Regions from separate parts of the Homo sapiens genome. Here regions 1 and 2 are each linked to region 3. The links are contacts of gene promoters, found by promoter capture Hi-C in blood cells and fetal thymus (Javierre and others, 2016). All regions are on one chromosome and are shown on one strand. The core of a region is centred on a gene start or on the middle of the fragment in contact, and the rest is flanking DNA. Distances in the headings are between cores, read along the strand shown. Region 1 overlaps BRWD1 (bromodomain and WD repeat domain containing 1). Region 2 overlaps BRWD1 (bromodomain and WD repeat domain containing 1). Region 3 holds the start of PAXBP1 (PAX3 and PAX7 binding protein 1).

What was found. Contacts are between HindIII fragments. The CHiCAGO score rates a contact against its expected background, and 5 or more counts as called.
Region 1: a contact is called between a fragment that was not itself captured here and the fragment with the promoter of PAXBP1 in region 3, in 1 of 17 cell types (M2 macrophages). The highest score is 5.0, in M2 macrophages.
Region 2: a fragment that was not itself captured here is called in contact with the fragment with the promoter of PAXBP1 in region 3 in 1 of 17 cell types (M2 macrophages); the score reaches 5.0 in M2 macrophages.

What each region holds. Positions count from the first base shown.
Region 1 is chr21:39,250,558-39,255,505 of GRCh38, forward strand. BRWD1 (bromodomain and WD repeat domain containing 1) reads right to left here. Exons shown (of 41, transcript NM_033656.4): 20 at 239-332. Among named protein-coding and RNA genes, the nearest start is that of BRWD1, 61 kb to the right of the region's middle. The HindIII fragment of the contact is 9,465 bases long and covers 1-4,948 here.
Region 2 is chr21:39,209,334-39,213,897 of GRCh38, forward strand. It overlaps BRWD1 (bromodomain and WD repeat domain containing 1), which reads right to left. Exons shown (of 41, transcript NM_033656.4): 33 at 4,148-4,220; 34 at 3,333-3,374; 35 at 1,453-1,596; 36 at 662-814. Among named protein-coding and RNA genes, the nearest start is that of PSMG1, 28 kb to the left of the region's middle. The HindIII fragment of the contact is 2,449 bases long and covers 56-2,504 here.
Region 3 is chr21:32,769,536-32,773,993 of GRCh38, forward strand. It overlaps PAXBP1 (PAX3 and PAX7 binding protein 1), which reads right to left and starts at 2,220. Exons shown (of 18, transcript NM_016631.4): 1 at 1,791-2,220; 2 at 279-407. The coding sequence starts at 2,133. It overlaps EPCIP-AS1 (EPCIP antisense RNA 1), which reads left to right and starts at 2,565. Exons shown (of 4, transcript NR_024623.1): 1 at 2,565-2,773. RefSeq lists an enhancer at 1,887-2,876. The HindIII fragment of the contact is 7,946 bases long and covers 1-3,077 here.

The sequences.
Region 1 (4,948 bases), core at 913-3,412, 6.5 Mb after region 3:
CTAAAATTAAGAACTCAATACCATTGTTAGGCACTAGGCAATTTTTCTCAAGTTTTCAAACTACTCCTTTCTAACAGCTATATAACCTTAAGTCTACTATTTTAAATCTCAAACAGAAAACCTTAAGCAAGAAATACTCCACTTCAGATGAAAGTTACTGATAGTTTTATAAATCAAAAAGAAAACTCTATATTTCAATGTAATTTCTAATTTGCTAAGAAAACAGAATTTAGGTTACCTTATGTGAGAGCTGAAGAGTCTTTCTTTTTCTTCCTATTATATAAAGATTTCTTTCCTCTTCACCTTTCTCTAATCGGAAGTCTTCCAGCTTCCTACAAATTTAAATACCCAGTTATATTAACTACTGAACTGATGGATAACTAAAGGATATAAAGAATAAAAACCAGTGTGATTCTATAAATCATAAGTTTATGTACTTTAAAAATACACAAAATCTCTGAAGTTAAAACATGTTAAAAATTTATATGAATATAAATAAAATCTCAGAGGCAGTTAAACCTATTTTTCATATCAGAGGCAAAAATATTCATTCGTTTTCTGATTGGTACTATCAGGACCAATTCAAACAGAATCTCCCATAATAGCTTTTCAAAACGTCTTCATGATTTTCCAAGATTGCAATTCCTTTCTCTAAAGAAAAAATAAGCAGAGTCTGCCTTCTCCACATTTATTCAAGCTATGTTTGATAATTTATAGAAAACAAGAATAGCAATGTTACTGGTTTTTCTAATCACCTATATTTCACTCACATGATACAACAAAAAGATTATGTTATTGTGACCAATTTCAAAGCAAAGGACCTGCCACCAAGAAGAAGGTACTAAAAATCATTTTTCTTCTCTGGAAAAGACTGACTGTCCCTTTTCTCCAACTGGAACATTATTAAAAACACGTGGCTTTTATGTTTTTGTTTACTTTAACATCTCAAAGGAAAAAGATTTATACTGAAATCTTGGCCATGTTCCAAGGTATAACTAGACACTCAACAGAGTGTAAGAGTAAATGCTGTAAGGATAAAAACTGATTTTTAAGAACACTGCATTTTTCTCTAAGTACGCCAGACAGCCCACACTCAAGATTACAGTAGAACATTATTTTATCCAGCGGGGATTTCTAAAGCAGACTCAACCTTTCACAGGTTGTCAATTTCACTGCTTTATGTGTGTTTAAGGAACCATATAACGAGATTTTCAGCTTGCAGCCAAATGAAAGTCCCACCTGATATCTGTATGTTTCCCTTTGACAATAAAGCAATACATACAATTGATTCTCAATCAATAAAACAAAGGAACACTTGACATAGGTATCATTTTCAGCTGCATGCAATTTTACTCCTAATGAGATGGTCAGCTAAGAAAAGTGGTATTAGCAAAGATCATAGAGTGTATATAAAAGAATTTTTATACGGCCGGGCGCAGTGGCCCACACCTGTAATCCCAGCACTTTAGGAGGCCAAGGTACATGGATCACCTGAGGTCAGGAGTTCACGACCAGCCTGGCCAACATGATGAAACCCCGTCTCTACTAAAAATACAAAAAATTAGCTGGGCTTGCCAGCTACTCTGGAGGCTGAGGCAGGAGAATCGCTTGAACCAGGGAGGTGGAGGCTGAAGTGAGCCAAGATCACACCATTACACTCCAGCCTGGGCAACAAAAGCAGAACTCCGTCTCAAAAAAAAAAAAAAAAATTTATAATGAATAGAATTTCTACCGTTATTGGATCAAGACAAACTACGTGCCTGAATCCTAGGCACAAAAAGAATTACTTATACTGGCAAGCAACATTATATGCTCATAGCTCTGCACAGCTGTCATTTACCTTTATGCTTTTATATCTATTACTCCAATTTTTCACATTGGACACAAACTTTTATAGTCAGAAAACAAATTTTTAAATACTCTTCATCCTTATCAAATGATATCCTAACATACAGTTATGAAAAATTCACCCTTGTTTCCACTATTGGAACTGTTGTCATGGGCAATGATCACCACATCTCAATCAATTATCGCCTTTATAAAATTTCACATGAGCTTTCTTTTAGAATAAAATGCTAGAAAGAGCTATGTTCTTTTTTGTGAAAATTATATTATGGCAGATAGCTAGCTGCCGTTCTCCTTTTCTTCCTTAGAAACACAATACCAATTTTTATCCAGGTTCTTTGCTGCTCTAAATAGATACTGTGTTACCTACTCTCCTCCTTAGCTTATTATGGTCAAATGACAACATTCTGGTCAATGAGTTATAAGCAGAAATGCCACATGGCTACTTAAAGTAAGTTCCTTTGACTAGAAATGCCCTTTTTGACATCTGAACATCTTTCTTCTTTTCTTCTAAATTTCAACCTACATCACAAATACAGATATGTAATAGCTACAGCTTCAGCAGCTATCTTGGACTATGCGGTGACCTTAAGACTAGAAGCCAAGGCTGGATGCGGTGGCTCACGCCTGTAATCCCAGCACTTTGGCAGGCCGAGGCAGGTGGATCACCTGAGGACAGGAGTTTGAGACCAGCCTGGCCAACATGGTGAAACCCCATCTCTACTGAAAATACAAAATTAGCCGGGTGTGGTGACCCATGACTGTAATCCCAGCTACTCTGGAGGCTGAGGCAAGAGAATCGCTTGAGCCCAGGAGGAGAGGCTGCAGTGAGCTGAGATCATGCCACTGCACTCCAGCCTGGGTGACAAAAGCGAAACTGTCTCAAAAAAAAAAAAAAAAAAAAAAAAAGGACTAGAAGCCAAGCTCCACGATGGGGATGAGAAACACAGGAGTCTAAGTTCCTGATTAACTGTGGAACCACTATTCCAGCCTTAGATTATTTCTAGTCTTCCTTCGGATAAGAAAATAAATGCTTGTGTTTTAAGAAACTAATTTTTCAGGTCTTTCTCTCTTGACACCTGTTTGCTTCCCTTGGTTTTGAAAAAGCATCCCAAAATGACACTTTTGGTTCTGATGACCATAAGACTTAGACGCCAATTTAAAACTTAATTACAGCATACTATATACATATTGATTTTCTGTATTTCTCATCACAATTCCACATTTTGCTTTTCACTATTTTCTAGTCCTTCCCAAATTCACAGAACAATATATAAGTACTATCTAATAACACTCCAGCATTCACTGAAACTCTTCTGGTTAAACATATAAAAACACAAAGATAAATTTACAAAATTATCTTCAAGCTATTAAGTTATTATGACATACAAACATGAGAAAATACTGAAACATTTTAGATATCATTCTAAAAAGTATTTCCTGTTTCCATTTCAATAACTCAAATCAGTACATTACAACTCAGCACCAAGGACACTACTGCCCATATTATAATTACAAAATATCATTTCTACACTTGATCTTAGCCAAAAGGCCAAGAAGCAATATAAAATATCATTTCTTAGGCTGGGCGTAGTGGCTCACACCTGTAATCCCAGCACTTTGGGAGGCCGAGGCAGGCAGATCACCTGAGGTCGGGAGTTCAAGACAAGCCTGACCAACATGGAGAAACCCCGTCTCTACTAAAAATACAAAATTAGCCAGGCGTGGTGGCGCATGCCTGTAGTCCCAGCTACTCGGGAGGCTGAGGCAGGAGAATCACTTGAACCCGGAGGCAGAGGTTGCAGTGAGCCAAGATCGTGCCATTGCACTCCAGCCTGGACGAGAGCAAAACTCTGTCTCAAAAAAATAAAAGAAATAACATTTCTTACTAAAAGAAAATAGGGCTGCTTAATTTCAGATATAGGTCAAAAATTTACAAGATGAACTATAATATCTTCCCCTGTCTCATAGTAAGGATGCTATGGAAAACTACTAGTCATTTTGAAAGGACAGGGAGCCTTAGAAAAGAGGCTCCTCATGGCTAGAAAAGAGATGATTTAAACATCAATAAAGAATATCAGAAATAAGTTAAACCCCAGCTATTTGATTTATACATTAAAACACACACACATACAAATTGGTCGCTGTTGAATAATGAAAAGGAATAAATCTTTATTTTGAGGGGAAATAAAGCAAAATAATCAAGCCATCTACTCTGCCTTTCCTACACAAACTTTGCTACTTGAAAACTAAGTATACTTGGGTTTCTTTTTTAGATTTCTTTTTCAGAAGTGTCCAAGATAATAAATGAAGAAGTTTTCATAGAGTTAAAAATCATGATTATACAACAGCTAATAAATTAATGAATCTACACATTAAGCACTGATAGCTGCTAACATCACAAAAACCGAGGAGGCTATTTATGTGTGCCTTCTGATAGAATTATCACTTATGAAGCAGTCTTGCAAAAAACTGAAAACATTTATGACACCTGAAACAACTGGAAATTTAAACACAGCCTGGATATTTGGTTATACTGAGAAACCAAGGTACGGTTTTTTTAAGGTGTGATAACAGCATTATTTTATATATTTTAAAATTTCTTATCTTTAGAAATACACACTTATACGCTTATGGACAAAAATAATATTACATCTAGAATTTCTTTCAAAATAATACTGAAAGGACAAAAGTGGGTGTGTGTGTGCATGGACAAAAAAAGACGGAGCCGGGCGTGGTGGCTCATGCCTGTAATCCCAGCACACTGGGAGGCTGAGGCAGGTGGAGCGCCTGAGGTCAGGAGTTCGAGACCAGCCTGGCCAACATGGTGAAACCCTGTCTCTACTAAAAATATAAAAAATTAGCTGGGTGTGGTGGCGGGCGCCTGTAAGCCCAGCTACTCAGGAGGCTGAGGCAGGAGAATCGCTTGATCCCGGGAGGTGGAGGTTGCAGTGAGCCGAGATCATGCCACCGCACTCCAGCCTGCGCAACGAGAGCGAAACTCCGTCTCGAAAAAAAAAAAGAAAAGAAGCAAGACTGGCTCTGAAAACCTTTAATGTAGTAAAAACATTAGAGAATAATTCTGACATTTTCCTACCACAAT
Region 2 (4,564 bases), core at 30-2,529, 6.4 Mb after region 3:
CGGAGTCAGATTTGAAATTCACTCCTGTCTCCTTAGGAGTCAACTTTCAATATAAAGCTTATTCTCAAAAACCCAGTGTCACCACTTCACTTGAGTAGGCTAGAAAAAAAAAAAAAAGAAAAAGAAAAACCCTGTGTCATAATATTAGCTTCTAACACATCAAGCAAAGAGCCTCCACTGGCTCTGTAACATTATTTGTGGTCTTAATCTGATAGCTCATGTGTTCCTTCTTCAAATCCAAATGTTCTTATGCTGTCAGCAGTCTCACAATCAGATTTTCCTTTTTACTTTTAATATTCTTACAGTCTCGATCTATGTTTCCAATCCACTTAAGATCCTTATACATACAAAACACAGAGACTCTTACTCTGTGTATCAAATTTGTTCACTTTCTATTGATGCCTACTCCCATTAATCCCCACTTGCTTATAAAATTTGAGGAGATTATGATAAACATCAACTGATGAAAGGCAAAAACTGAAGCTATATGAGCAGTAGCAGAAGCTCTTTTCTTTATAATAGTCTTAATTTATTCACTTATCTTTAATGTTCTAACCTCTATTACACAGTGGAAAATTACACTGGAAAAAATTACTATTACATTGGAAAATTATCTACACAGATCAGGCAGTTTTTTTCAATAAACCACATAAAAAATTACCTTTGATCTTTTGTTTGGTGTATACGCTTTTGCATTGCTAAATATCAGCCGGATGTCTTTGCAAAACTCCAAAGGGCTGTCATAATTTCCCGCATCTAGAGTTTCCCTTACTGTTCCAAAATCCATTGGGGTATCTATAATATCTCTGTAGTCCTAGGTTTTAAACACAATATTTAATTCATAGATTCATTTCTTGCTTTTAGAAATGTAAATGCATCAGATCTCTAAAAAATGTGAAATGATGGAAGAGAGGAAAAGGTTAGAGGACTCTTAAAATTCATTAGTAATGTTTAAAAAGAGGTATAAAAACAAAGAAAAGATAGAAATATACCAAAATGTTAATGTCTATTTATTGTTAGTGACACATGGGATGGTTTTATTTCCTGCTGTATGTACTCCAAGCATCCTACAGTCACTCTGTGCTGTTATAATCCAACTTTTTTTATAAAGTCATCTTTCAATTTCCCTTTTTAAAGAGTGCAAACAGACACGTTTATCCAATTCACAGTTCTCCTAGTGCTGGGCCTACTTAGATAGAAATCTAAGTAGATCCATCCCACTGTTATGTAATACTGATTATCTAAGTCTAAATTCTTAAATGAGCTCACAAGGGTGTCTATAAATTGAAGAAAACTATGTAAAAACAATACTTCTACCACTAACTTAGTGATAGGAGCAAAAAAGTTAACATAAAGCCTGGGTATCTTTCTCTTTAAAGTTTAATAACTCTACCCCAGTTTCCTCACTGCAAAACAAGAAAAGCCCCAAACATTTAAACAATGGAAACTTACTGGATATTCAACCAAATCAACAGGTTGTCTAAATGGTTCAGAATCTTCACACTGAAAAATTAAGTTCACTAGTTCCTTACACTGTTTCTTCCAGTTGCTTTCAACATAGTTCGTAGCTCTGATGCTTTTTTTCCCATCATGGACCTAAAAATACATTCACAGTCTTAAGAAAAATCACACTATTGGTGTAAGACTGTGGTAAAAATGTAACTGATCTACTGTCTTCTATAAAAATACAATAATGTCATATATGTTGCTCTCAACACATTTTTCCAGAAATGAAATTTTTAAACTATGCATGAAACGTAAGTTATTTTCATATAACTTAACCAATTTCAGAAATATTACAAAGTTAGCTATGAAAAGCATACTCTAACAAGAGCACATTATCTAGTGAAAGGCTATTCCATGACCTCTCACCTCCCAGGTTTATAATATTTGTTTTCGCAGAATATGAAGCACATCTGATAATATGATAGGCAGAATAATGGCCCCACCAAAGATGTCCACATCATAATCCTCATAACCTATGACTATGTTGCCTTACATGAGAAAAGGTATTTTGCATTAAGGGTATAGACCTTGAGATGAAAGATTATCTTGAATTGATTGCTTGGACCCAGTATAGCCACAAAAGTTATTATAAGAGGGAGGCAGAAAGGTCAGAGTCAGAGAGAGACTGAAAAATGCTACATTGTTGGCTTGAAAGATGGAACAAGGTGACCTGGAGCCAAGGTGAGGACACCCACTAGAAGCTGGAAAATGCACATAACTCTCCCTGGAGCTTCTGGCCACACCAAGACCATGATTCTGACCTAGAGACCCATGAAAACTTCTAATCTACAGAACTATCAGGTAATACATTTTTATTATTTAAGCAACTAAATTTGTCATTTGCTGCAGCAGACATAGCAAATAAATACAAATACTAAACACTTGGGAGTCTAGAAATAAAATTAAACGAAAATGACTAATCAAATTAGAGTATTTTAGGTATAACTTTTCAGTGTTCTGGAAGGCAAGCACATGGTATAAATTAATATTTCATAAAAAGCTTAAATTTAAGGAGCATTTGGAGGAAATTTAAAATGATCTGGGCTAAAATGTCTTAAGCATTTTCATATTAATAACCTTTAATTTTAATTACTCTATATTTGAACTTCAAAGCCTGCCGATACTCCATTATGATTACCCACTTTCATAAACTTAGTTCCATAGACCCTTCTCCTTACCCCTCAACCTCATCATCCCAACATATCTCCATTGTTAAAAAAAGTTCAGTCACCAAATCCTAGTTAGTTTTCCCTAAAAAGGTGTCATAATTTTCCTTTCCTCTCCATTCCAAGCAAATATCCTTGACTAGGTACCCGTCCTTCACCCTATATTCTTGGAATAAACTCCTAATTCATCTCCTTTAATACACATCTTCTTATCCTTCAAATTGTATTATCTATTTTGGCTGTTCAATTGATTCTCTACTTTAAATGAAATCCTTGGATTTCAATATCACCATAATCTACCCCAATCATAACAGCCAGACACAGCCACTTTGATCACTTCAACATCCAACCTCTACACCAGTCAGGTGTAGTTCCCTTAACAGTCTATGGACATGCCATGCCATATTTCTCTACTTTTTTTGTCTTTCCTGTGGTAGCCTCTATTTTTTGAATGGCCTCTTCTTACTCCATCTCACTCTGATAATACAGTACAAATTCCAACTCTCCCACTAAATCTTTCCAGTAATTTCTCCCATTTTGCTAATAAAATATTCAGTATCTACACTGATATAACTTTTCAAAGACAAAAACTAAAATCCTGAATTGATTTTAAAACAAAGAAAAAGAAACTACAAAAGTCAACCATGCAGAGTAACTTACTCTCCTCCTTCCAGAAGATGTTTTAGGAAGATCACTATCATCCTAGGAATAAAATCAGAGCACCTTAAGTATTTAGAGTCTCATTAGAAAATAATAACATAATCTTAATAAATAACATATCAAAGACATTTGGTATTACCAGAGTTATAACATGTTATTATCAAAATCTCCAAAGAAAGACTACCAGATGATCTTTGTGGCACCCAGGCTTGAAAAAAAAAAATCATTCTTAATAATCCTTTTTCATTCCCTAAGAACATGAACTAATTCTAAAATTTGAAATTACAGCTATAAAAAGACGCTTCATGCATTTCCTAAATAGAAAACTTGTGTTTTACCTCTATCCACAAATCCCCAGAAACATACAGATTCCTATAGTTTCTGCATTTTGTGTTCTATAGTACAGGCATGCACTACCACCCCCATCTAACTTTTTTATTTATTGTAGAGACAGGGTCTCAAACTCCTGGCTCAAGCAATCTTCCCATCTCAGCCTGCTAAAGCACTGGAATTACAGGTGTGAGCCACTGTGCCCAGCCTCCAAGGTACTTTATATAATACACCTTTCACTAGCTAAAATATAGAAAGAGAATATATTCCACACCTAAAGTTATTCACTTAGATATATTTTGATATTAGCTAAAACAAATTACCTCATAAATCATCTAGAAAATTCAAAAATATAATTTTATCAAATGCCCTATTTGTTCATTGGACTACTACAAGAGTTGGTACTACAAAGCCAACATTTTCTTCACTTTAAAAATACCATTTGAAATTAACAAAAACCATTATAAAATCAACAAACTTCATACCAAATCCTCAGCATTTTGCTCATCATTTTCAGATGTGTTAGAAAGTTCTGAGATATTTGTACAGTGTTGATTCCTAAAAAACAAATTTTCACTTTAATAGTATGCAGATGTAGTGACTTGTTGGCAAGGATTCAAATTATACATTAAAATATAAACAGTTCACCAACCTATACGTGCCTAATTTCAAACAGAGGAATATCAGGTTTTCCCCCAACCCTTTGTAAACGTAACTAGCCATCTTAAATCCTAATTTAGAATCTTGAAGGTTTTTCTTGTTTTCCGTTAAGTATGTATCCAAATTAAGCAGGTAATCCAAAAATAATATATGTATGGCCTCAATTGGATGAATACATGGATGAGTTTTTCTAAGTATCATCAATAGCAGTATTCACACAATAAGTACCAGGAAAACAGTTG
Region 3 (4,458 bases), core at 970-3,469:
TCTCTGTTCAACAGCAGTCTGCACACAAGTAGGAAAACTGTGAGAGAATCTAGTCATTGCAGCAGAAATGTTCCAGTGGCAACAATTCTGTCTTCTTATAAAATACATTTACAAAGCATCTGTGTTACAATTAAATAACAGAACTGTACTGCTACTCAATAAGGGCCCTTGACAACCACAGGGTCCACTGAATGAGTTCAGAAGATATACAGCAAATCACTGTGAGAAAGAGCTTTCATTTTGTCATTTCAAAAGAATTCAATTAGTTTGGTACTTACTTTCAGCTGATGAGTTGAGTTCTGTCTTAATCTTCGATTTTTCAAGATCTTCTTTATATTCCTTCTTGAGCAATTTTACTATCTTTTTGCTATAACTTGATTTCTTCACTTTGAAAACTTCTTCATTTTCTTAAAAAGGAAATTAAATGAAGTCTGTAGCAACTATTTTCTGAAAATATTTTCCCTTCTTTCACATGATCTTACGTGCTGTCCAAATTATCCCAAATATATATACTCATATGCCAAAATCATTGTATAATTATTTCAAGTCTGTCACAGACTCAAAAACAGAGGTCAACTTCCTAAATTACTGTGAAGTAATGAGATTTTTGAGACTTTTTAAAGGAATAGCACATGTAACTTCACAAAATTTTCCTATTATTGTCGTCCTTAAATCATCTATTTGAGAGGGGAAAAAATCATTCAAAATGTTTCTGAAAAACCACATCACCAAGTTATTAACGAATCCGAAACAAAATATCTAAAATAAAAAGGTGCTGTCAATTCTGAGTAACTACATCCACCACAAGCTGACATAGTGGTTTTAAAGCTAAGGTAAGGGCAAATCACTTTTCTTTGATTTGAAATTTTAAAAGTACTAAATACTTAAAAAAAAATAGCTCATGTATCTCAAAAACAAAAATCTGTCTGTACTCCTCTCAAACCAAATAAAGAGTAACAGAAATGCCAAAGATAAACTACCTACCTTACTGGAAACCTCTCGAATAAAAATGCAAGATTTACAAAACTTAATTTCTTTTTTCGTAACATGGAATTAACTGGGTTATGCACATTCAAATGGTCAGAAGAAAAGATTTAAGGCTCATTTAAGATCAGCAATCTAAAACCACTGCAGCCTGGCCTCCCACAGGAATTGGAGAAACTACCTTGCTTTTACTATTTTTACACCGTCTCGCTTCACTGTTCCCAAAGTCAGTGCGAAGAAGGCTGGGTATCTGCTACCCCTAATTACTTTTATGGGTAAACTGAGGCTCAGCGACTGCAAGGGACTGGCCCAAGGTCACTCAGAACCAGAGCTGCAACTCCAGGCTTCTGTTCCCTCTCCTAGTATTCCTTTTTACAAACTCGGCCTTCATGGTCGAGGATGCCTGGACAGAGCATCCAAGAAGTGTGGGCGCAGTGACCTGCAGAGGGCTCGGAAAGCATGCCAAGAGCAGCCAGGGGACCCACACCAAGTTGGCCCTGAAACACGCCAGGCAGAAAAGAGGCAGGACAGGGAACACCGAATTTCCCCTGAAACACTCTGAATGCCTGATCTGAGCTCCGGCCCCGTGGCAGAGGAGGTGGTTAAGAAAAGGCTGGGGGCAGCGCGGGAACGCGTCCCTTGCCCGAGCAGAAGGCCGGAGGCTGGGGAAGATTCGCAGCCGGTCGGACGGCAGGGGACTCCGTTCCAGGGCTCCGGGGCTGGGCGTCCAGAGAATACGGGGGCGGGGGACGGGGGCCTGCGTCGGGGATGCGGCCGTCTAAGGGCGTCCGAAGCGCGCACTTTACCTTCCTCCTCGTCCTGGAAGCTGAGCAGGCTGGCCCGGGGCACCTCTTTGTTCTCGCGAGGCCTCTTGCGCGGCTTCAGCCCGTTGCCGGGCTCCGCGCCGCCGGGGAAGCCGCCCCCGGCCTCAGCCCCGAGGCCCGGGGTCAGCGCGGAAGGCGGCGACGGCCCCGGGCCCAGCAGCGACTCCCCGCCAGGGGCCCTGTCGCCGCCACCGGGGCCCGCCTCTTCGCCCGTGCCCGGCGGCGGCAACAACGGCGGCGGCTCCTGCTCCTCATCGCGTTCCCGCTCTTCCTCTTCGGAGTCGTTCCGCTTGCGCACGTTCACCCGCCGGGCCTTTCGGAACATCCCCGCGGCCCGCACGGCGGTCGAATACTCGCTTCCACACCGCGGCCCCGGCAGCGCCGAGCTCGTGACGGCGCACGCGCGCTCTCCGGAGCTCCAGCCGGGTCGAGTCCTCTGTTGCTACCGCGCACCCCACGAGCGCGCATGCGCCTATGCTCCCACGCGCTCTCAATACTTGGAGAAAGAGAGAGAGTGAGAGAGAGAGAGAGAGAGAGAGAGAGAGAGAGAGAGAGAGAGAGAGAGAGAGAGAGAGAGAGAGAGAGAGAGAGAGAGAGAGAGAGAGCGAGAGAGAGAGAGAGAGAGAGAGCGAGAGAGAGAGAGAGAGCCCCACACCTCTCGCGAGAGCGTCGGCTCTTTGCATCGCTCTCTGTCGGAGTGGAGTACTATTAGCATGGAACTCTGGTGTTGTTTGACAGGTCACAAAGAGGATCATAGAGATGAGAAGAAAGAGTAGGCTCTGTTGTCCCTCAGACGGCGCTGCTGCAGTGCGTCTTCGCACTTACGCGGAGCGGTAATGTGAGGAAGCCTCCCGCCAAACAGATGAGGGAGGAGGAGGAGGGGAGAGGCCAGAGAGAGAAGCGGCTTTCGGGAAGGAAAGTGTGATCTAGTAGGTGGAATAGTCCTCTCCAAACTTTGACCTGAGGTGTGACTATTGGTAATTACTAGTTATTCTTGAGTAATACTTTGTATTTCTACAGCTTTATAGCTACAGAGCTCTTAGAAAGACATTGAATTTTATTTATGATACAATGTTACTTCAAAGACATTGAATTTCATTTATGGTACAATGTTACTTCAAAGACATTGAATTTCAGTTATGATACAATGTTACCTGGCTTGATGTCCCCCGTTCCCCAGTCTTTCAGGAACAAGGAAAGCAAAAGTGTTTCCGTGTTTTCTAAAGAATGCCAAGTTTGCAAGCAATTCTATGACTAAATACTTTCCAAAGCTTAGTGAGTTTCAGAAACAAGTGGAAGGAAAATAGAGCAGGGGGTGGGGAAGGTTGTGACAGTTCTCAGACTTGCGTGACAAAGCCCTCGCTGGCCACACCTTCACAGGGTGATTGCGCCTAAGGTTGAACTCACCGGCTTTCCCTATCTCATCACCGAACTAGAAGTTTTTCCTTCGGGCATGCACCTGTGCATGCGAATTCATTTTGATGTTTCGAAATTAAAAGGGTATTCGGTAGAGTGAAAAAAATCCACCCATGTCTGGAAGGCTGTTCACTTCCTCAGTGGCAATGTTAACAGTTTCTTATGATCCTCTAAAGATGTTCCATGAACATAAAAGCAAATAAATATGCATATTTTAATGTGTTCCCCTTTTTACACAGATGGTGTGTAAGCTGCATTTTTAGCCTACCGTAGATTGGAGATCGGCCCATATCTGTATATGAAGGGTTGTGTTTTTTTGGTTTTTTGTTTGTTTGTTTTGAGACTAAATTTCGCTCTTGTCGCCCAGGCTAGAGTGCAATGGCGCGATCTCCGCTCACTGCAATCTCCGCCTCCCAGGTTCAAGTGATTCTTCTGCCTCAGCCTCCCTAGTAGCTGGGATTACAGGCACGTGCCACCACGCCCAGCTAATTTATTTTGTATTTTTGTATTTCACTCTGTTGGCCAGGATGATCTCAATCTCTTGACTTCGTGATCCGCCCGCCTCAGTCTCCCAAAGTGCTGGGATTACAGGCGTGAGCCACCGCGCACGGCCGTCTATTTTTTTTTTTAACCCACCTGCGTAGTGATTCATTGTTGGGATATACCGTAATTTATTTAACCAGTTCCATAAACATTGATATTTAGATTATTTCTAGTCTTAATCAGTGCTGTAATGAAAAGCTTTGAAAAACTGTTACATCTGTAGGATGAAATAGAATTGAAATTGCTAGATCTCAATATATGCATTTATGATTTTGCTAATTCTAAATTTCTTTTTATAGAAGTTATGCAGTTTGCACTTATATCAGCAAACATTAGGATGCCTGTTTGCCCACACCATCCTGTAGAAATTTCAGTAAGATTTAAATTCCAGGTTGAAGTGGAAGATCCCGAGCACTCCAAGCATTTCTTTTTATTTTATTTATTTATTTATTTATTATTTGTTTGAGACGGAGTCTTGCTCTATGGCCCAGACTGGAGTGCGGTGGCACGATCTCAGCTCACTGCAACTTCTGTCTCCCATGTTCAAGCTATTGTCATGTCTCAGCCTCCCGGGTAGCTGGGATTACAGGCATCTGGCACCACACCCGGCTAATTTTTGTATTTTTGTTTTGTTTTGTTTTGTTTTTTAAGACGGAGTCTTGCTCTTCTCGCCCAGGCTGGAGTACAATGG